2 separate regions of the Homo sapiens genome follow, and region 1 is linked to region 2. The links are contacts of gene promoters, found by promoter capture Hi-C in blood cells and fetal thymus (Javierre and others, 2016). All regions are on one chromosome and are shown on one strand. The core of a region is centred on a gene start or on the middle of the fragment in contact, and the rest is flanking DNA. Distances in the headings are between cores, read along the strand shown. Region 1 overlaps LOC105375858 (a long non-coding RNA gene). Region 2 holds the start of CA8 (carbonic anhydrase 8).

Region 1 (3,536 bases), core at 221-2,720, 1.5 Mb before region 2:
CCTTCCTTGAGTCCGGTTGTACAGTTGCCTCTTTCATGTATTCATATCCCTGACCACATCAGATATGAGCCAAGATAAGGACTCCCCCTTAGATATTTGCCCACCTGGAAGATAAATATTTCTTCCTTAGAACTAACTTTTGCTCCCAGAGATAAATTCTGACTTTCTTCCCTCTGTGCTAGATATACCTTGGGCCAAACATCCAGGATTTACCTAGCATATGTCCAGGGGAAGGGGCGGGATGGGACCCAGTTATGGCCACTAACTTTGTCCACTTGGAAAAAAAACTCTTAGAATACTTTTTCTATCTCTTTATCCTTTTCAAGTGTTTTTTGCTATGACTGGTAAGGCACAAGAATTTGAAACTAGGACATGGGAGCATGTTCCTTCTTTGGCTGATTATTGAGTTATCTCAGTACTCAGATAAGCGTCTATATCTTAGGGATAATAAACACTAGTTAATCTCCCCCTCTTACTCAGTAACCTGTCTCAAGAGAAAGCCTTCCCTTGTTATTGGGCTTCTTCCCCTTTCTGAATTGTTACCTGTTTCAGACATTTCCCTGAGGACAATCGTGAAGCCTCTCTTATAAGGCTGTTCTTAGGAGGGTTATTATACCAGATTAGACAGCCACCTCTCACTCTGTTTAATTTTGTAGTTATTCAACACTGAAAATAAATTTCTTGATCCTCTTTCAATTGATTAATCATAGCATAATTAAGGAAGAGTAAAAGACAGCTGACTCATCTAGTTTACATGTTTAATTTTATCTAAATCACACATTCACAAGGTAAGATGAAAGATGAAACAGAATATGAAAGAATATATATATACCATATATCTATTCTTCCTTAGTATATATAATGTGTATTTGTAATAAACACATCAATATATAATTCATAGTAGTATATGTATAATGTAAGAAAGTACAAAAAATAATATAATGTGCAGCATGTGTCTTGAGGTTTAACTCATTCTTTCTCCAAGAGCCGATCTAACAAAATAGGATAGTTCATGGAATTCAATCACATGGAGTGAGTTTAGAGTATGCCTCCTTACTCTCTCTCCATACTGGGTTTAGATGCCGTTTGATTGACTACCTGTCCCATGGAGGGAAGATGCTATTAGATTTCTCCTCTAAAGATATGTTCCTTCTTTATCACAAATTCCAAGGTTCACTTTTTACTATGACTTCTGGAGCCAGAATAGAATGTCACTTTCAACTCTGATGGCTTCCCGTGTGAGTGTAATGTAACAAGGAGGATAAACTAGATCACACTCCGTGTCCACAGTTGTCCTAATTTATTGTGGACAACAAAACTGAATAGCAGTGGGAGAAGAATTCACTTGAGTTACTATCTAAAAATCCTTCTGGGCCAAGGAAAGAAGGGTTGTTGGCGTTTCACTTTTCAGTTCATGTTTATCCTTGGCCTTCTTCAGATGACAATGAATTTGCTGCACAGGCTCAGCTTGCCCCAGAAAGATCCTGAGTGGTGGTGAATGTTCTCTCCTTCCTTTGCCCCATCTCCAGTGATAGTGCTAAATACTTGTGGGGTAATCTGACACAGCCTTAAAACAATCCAATTTTTCAGTTCTGGGGAATGCTCGAAAGACAGGAGACAATGTTACAATCTGCCATAAGGCATTCTTTAAGCTAGCTCTCCTGTAAGCAGAAAACTAGTTTTATTGAGAAGAGCTACCTTTAATCAGAAAAAAATACCAAGGAAATATGTTACATTGATTTTACCACTAAAAATTGAGAATCTGGGGCAAAGGCAGTTGATATGAGTCAGAACCTTGAAGTTGATGAGCTACGTGCAGCTCAGCATGGCTCCTGATTGCTTAGCGTGATCTGCTGAATGAGCATGTCCATGTCTATACAGCCCCTGAGCTCAATCGTCTTGAGGGTTTACACACAACTGTGTTGAGCACAGTTGTTTATATTAACACATAATTCATCCAATTCCAATTATTAAAATAATTGGCCACAATACAGTTTACCCAGATAATTTTAGCGTTCTTATCAAATTGACCGTTAGCTAGTGACTTGAGGATTCTTTGATCAGCTTCTATGGACCAAGAAAAATACAACCAAACTGTCATAAATTCAGTTGAGCCTTGAAAGTATTGTGGCAACATGCTGCTAGAAATGTCCATTTGGTGAAAGGCACAAATGTTGGCAGTTGTCCATACTAACCCTGCTCATGTGCAGAGATTCCTTCAAAATCATTAGGACAGCTAGCTCTTTCTTCATTAAAATAAATGCTTACTGAAGTCGTACATTAGCTGTCTCTCTGTTTTGCAATCAATTAAGGCAGGTTTTCAACATCTAAATTTCCCCAAATGTTCTCTAATGGGTCTCATTGATATTCTACTTTTCAAAATTCAGATATAAAAGGCATTGGCATCATTAATATCCTTTTCAAAAAAAAGTCTTTCAGTTCATTTTAATGGCTTTACATTCCCCCCCCAAATTTGGGTGGAATCCTTCTGTATCTGGGTTATAACATAGGCCCAATAAAATCAGTGTATGAATATAGTACCACAGCTGTTCAAAACATCACTACCACTATCGCCGTCATTGAACTGTTTACTATGCACTACACAGGAGTAAAAAATTCTCCAGTAAAGTGATCAAAATTTTAACACATATGAACATACTTAAAACCTAAGTTTTGTATGCTATTTAAAAACCTAATATACTATCAGAATGAGTTCATAGTAAAGTTCTGTCTTTCTGCAAAACTGCCTGTAGCTAATCTTACCAATGAGGCATGCATGAGAATACTGCTATCTTCTCATACATATTACTAAATTTGGTAATATTATGTTTTTTTTTTGGAGGAGGAAAAGTATATAAAATTTTATTTTCAGATTATATCATTTATTTAGGGTTTTATTTTTCTATTTCTATTTCTATACTTTTCATATGACTTTCAGTATCACATTATGAGAACGAAGTTATGTGATTCTGTTCCAGCACTAATAATATTTTATTTAAGATATAGGACAGCTTTTTCTGTCTCTTGGGGACAATGTGGACCATATATAGTAAACTACTTAGTGGTTCTGGAAGGATAAGTGCTTTTTTTCTAGTTCTGCTGTGCAACATAGGTTCTCTCCCTTGTGGAGAGGTGAAACACGGTAAAAAATAAAATGTATTAAAGTAGTGACATGAAACATTCTTAGCATTCTCTTCTTTAGTATCCTACAAACTCAATAACTCTCAGAAATTTAATATCTGTCAGCATTTTGACAACCAAGAGCCCATTTGATTCCAAAATGTTTGATATTTTAATATTCTCATCAGATTCTCAACTCACCCCTGCTCCCAAAATAAGCAACCCGGCCCTCTGCAAACACACCAAGCCTGAGGCTGATCTAAGTGGATTCTATATTCTACCATTATAACATTAATGTTTTAATAAATGCACAACATGTAGTACAAAACCCCACAAATGCAGAGGAAGAGTAGGTTCTATTTCCTAACGAGGTCAAATAGTAGGATTTCCTGTTCACAGTCAGAGGTTGCCAGAGA
Region 2 (3,564 bases), core at 315-2,814:
GGTATTCCCCATTAGCATCAGGAAACACCAGACCCCACTCAACACCTAAGAACAAAATGAAATAAATTAAAAACAGGTTAAAAAATAAATTACAGTAAAATTTAACATGTAAAAACTAAACACTTAGAACCCTTGATATCATGAAGAGAGTAATGATACCATCACTATACAGATGAAATATGGTAATTCTATTTGTTTTTGCATTCATTATTTGAATGATCTGTTATTATCAAATACCATACACAAAATCCCGGACTAGCAAAATATTCTATTTGTATTTGTCAACAAAGACATAATAATTTATGATTCTAGGAAATTTGGGTCATTTTTAAGTGATTAGGAAAAAAGAATACCAGAACAATTTCTTCTGCTTATTAGTTCAATTACGTTCAGTACCTGGGAAACAGCTGTAACTTTCAACATACTTAGTGACAGTCAGAACCCTAACTCTCATGCTAGTAAATAGACGCCCCTTATCAGAAATGCAAGTGTAGTATTTTAAAGTGTGCATATGTATATATCTGTGTACATACATATTCCCATAGTCTTTCCAAATTTTTTATAATTAAAATTATATATTCTATATTGGTTTCAACATATGTAGTAAACATCAGCACTACTGGTTGGCTCTAATAGGAGCCCTAGGTCTTTAGGAATAAATCTAGGAAACTCGAGTTTTTCAGAAAGTCAACCGCTTCTCGCCAAACCCAATGATTCAGTCTGAAATTTAGGACATGTTTTAGAAAGACTTGAGCATTGCTAGCAGGCTTCACGAAAAGACCAGAGGCAGAAACACTTTCTCCCCAAAGTCTCCAAGCCAAAAACGAATTCTTCACGCTAACACTGTCTTCCTCAGGTGTTTAGTAAAATGTACCGCTGCTCTTCTTGACTACTCAGAAGACATAAAAGGTACAGCCACGGCTTGGAGGCTAGCCCGCCCTCCGGACCGCAGCAGGTGCGAACGCCAGCCCTGCGGAAGGCTCCCGGGTGAGAGCGCAGGCGGCGGAAGAGCGCAGGCGGCGAGCACGCCTCCCTGGAGCGCCTCCCGCCCGAAACGCACCAGGGGAGTGGGAAAGTGGCAGAGACCCCCGTGGGAAAGAGGGGGCGTGGGGGTGCTCGGAGCGCGCAGCGGCAGCAGGACTCGAGTCCCGCGCTCGGCGAGACACTGACGCCGCCGCGGGACCCCGGACACCCCGACTCGCGGCCACTTACCTTCCTCGTAGCCCCACTCCACACCCTCCTCTTCTTCCTCCTCATCCTCTTCCTTCTCGGGGAAGGCGACGGTATCTTCGATGAAGCTCAGGTCCGCCATGGGAAGGCCGCGGGGCCCCTCGGCGCTCTCGGCAGCAGTGCCTGCGCCTTCGCTGGGCGCGGGGCTGGAGCCGGAGCGGAGCGCGCGTGGGGGAGTGTGAGCACGCGTGAGCGGCAGTGTGAGTGCGAGAGCGCCTCCGGGTGTGAACCGCAGTGTGAGTGCAAGCAGGCGTGCGTTCGGACCGAGTGTTCCAGAGACCCGCGTGGGAAGCGCGTCCGGAGGCCCCAGCAGAGCGAGGGAGCGGCTGTGGCCTGGGGAGCGAGCGCCTGGCGAATTTTATACCCGACCGGGGCGTGTCTGGTACGCGAGGATCCGCCCCCTTCTCTCTCTGGCCGTTGGGGCCAGGGGAGCCGACAGTTAGAATGCGCCTCGGGGCGACTAGTCCCAAGTCACGGAAACCTCGGCGCATCCCCGCCCGCCCTTCCCCCGGGGTCGCCCCCGCCGCCTCCTGGCGCTTCCTCGCTGCGGCGACTCCTGCTTGGCCGCCCGAGCCTTCCTTCCAGAAGCCCGCAAGTCTCCCAAGGTCACTCGGGACCCCTGTGTGCCTGGCCTAGCCCAGAGGCTGCTCACCTATTCATTTTCATCCGTACTCCAGGAAATACCAAAAAGAAGGGGTCCTGGAGGAGAGAGATGGGCTGCCGTGGGTAGGAGAAAGGAGAGGGCTAGGAGACCCCGTAACACAATAAAAAGAGACTCTCCAGCGGAATCTTCTTAGTATCTTCTGAGTATTTACTTTTTAAATCGTCCGTTCAGCGCAGTGGAAACGAGTTTGGAAATTTTTCCAAGAAAGTTCTATTAATTCCTAAAAACGTTTAAGAAAAGAAAATGGTTGTTATCTAGAGAAGTAGCTATGATTTAGGGTTGTGTTTTTTTTTTTTTTTTTTCCAGAAAAGGGTATTGTTTCAAAGCAGGGCTAGCAGAAGGCAGTAGACAGAGGGTGTTCGCTGTCAGAGTCTGGGGCGCTGCTGCAGGCTCACCTGGCTGTGTACACAGCTCCCATTCACCTAGTGAAATCGTGTAAATAATGAAGTGCACACATTGCATAACAAACAGGAACTCTTCTGATCCAAAGAGGTGGCATTGTTACCCTTAAACGTGCTTCTCAGTCTAGTGTTAACGACTTCAGCCCTCTGTTCCTGTGCCTTTTAAAAGCCCTGGTCAGTAACCCCTAAGTAGGTTAACTCCACATTTTTAGAAGATATATGTGCACAATAAACTCGAGTTAGGACCTTAAGTACAATTTGTTTTTTATATGCTCTGGTCATTCATGAAGATATCTATTTGCACTTTGAATAACCTGTTCCTAAATCACACCAGCCTTATGAATGCATAATTCCTCAAATAAGGATGGAAATGATCCGTTTGGGAATGTTTAGTTTCAGTGCTCATATCCTTTACTGCCTGCTAAGCACCTCCACTTTTTAAAAAGACACTTCATAGCTTTTAAAAAAAAAAAATTACAAACTGCTCCAGAAAGTACACTGAGATGGAAAGAAGTGGGGGGAACCCTCAACTCGCTCAATTCTGCCACTTTCTGGAAGGTTTAACCAAATATATGGAAAACTACTGGCCAACATTAGCTTGGAGGATAACCGGTGGATTTTAAGCATTCATATAATTTCTCTTTTCCTTAACTGTGCAGAGGACTGAAACAGTTTGAGAAACTAAATTCATTTTTCACTCACTGCATTCTGGGTGTTCTTTAGTGGACGGTCGTTTGCATCTTTGCAAGCCTGGGACTGGCAGAAGCAGAAGCCTACCCCAAAGCCAGAGCTATTAAAAATAATAAGCACTACTGAAAATATTAACTACTTTTCACTGAAGGTCTTCTAAAAGGAACATTTATTTTTCCTTTCTTGAAAACTTTTTTGTAATCTTCTATTTGTTTTAAGTTTCTTTTTAGAAGTATGTTCACACGTTAATTAAATGCCACAGCTAAGGAAGCCCATACAAAGGCTATGAAGGAATTGGATAATAAAAGCACTGCCACTCTGAGCTCATCAGCAATGGCCTTTCTCCTCTGTCCCCCAAATGTGCCTAAGTATGACATTGTAGCCATTGTGTGACCACCAACTGTGTTTAAAATATCAGGTGAATCATAGAGATGTTTATCAAACCAGAGGATGGTACAATCACCATGGTAAAAAACTGAATTTTCCATGAATAAATACTGTGCCATATTTACAAAAGATAGGCTGAAAGATTGAATTATTAGTATTTACTTTTACAGTAAAAAGACAATTTTGCATATA

What was found. The method cuts DNA at HindIII sites, captures the fragments that hold promoters and counts their contacts. A CHiCAGO score of 5 or more calls a contact.
Region 1: a contact is called between a fragment that was not itself captured here and the fragment with the promoter of CA8 in region 2, in 1 of 17 cell types (naive B cells). The highest score is 5.1, in naive B cells.

What each region holds. Positions count from the first base shown.
Region 1 is chr8:58,741,033-58,744,568 of GRCh38, forward strand. The region is part of intron 2 of LOC105375858 (a long non-coding RNA gene); the gene reads right to left. Among named protein-coding and RNA genes, the nearest start is that of NSMAF, 83 kb to the left of the region's middle. The HindIII fragment of the contact is 4,226 bases long and covers 1-3,536 here.
Region 2 is chr8:60,279,836-60,283,399 of GRCh38, forward strand. It overlaps CA8 (carbonic anhydrase 8), which reads right to left and starts at 1,565. Exons shown (of 9, transcript NM_004056.6): 1 at 1,213-1,565; 2 at 1-45. The coding sequence starts at 1,312. RefSeq lists an enhancer at 1,041-1,547 and a silencer at 1,540-1,748. The HindIII fragment of the contact is 5,420 bases long and covers 1-3,564 here.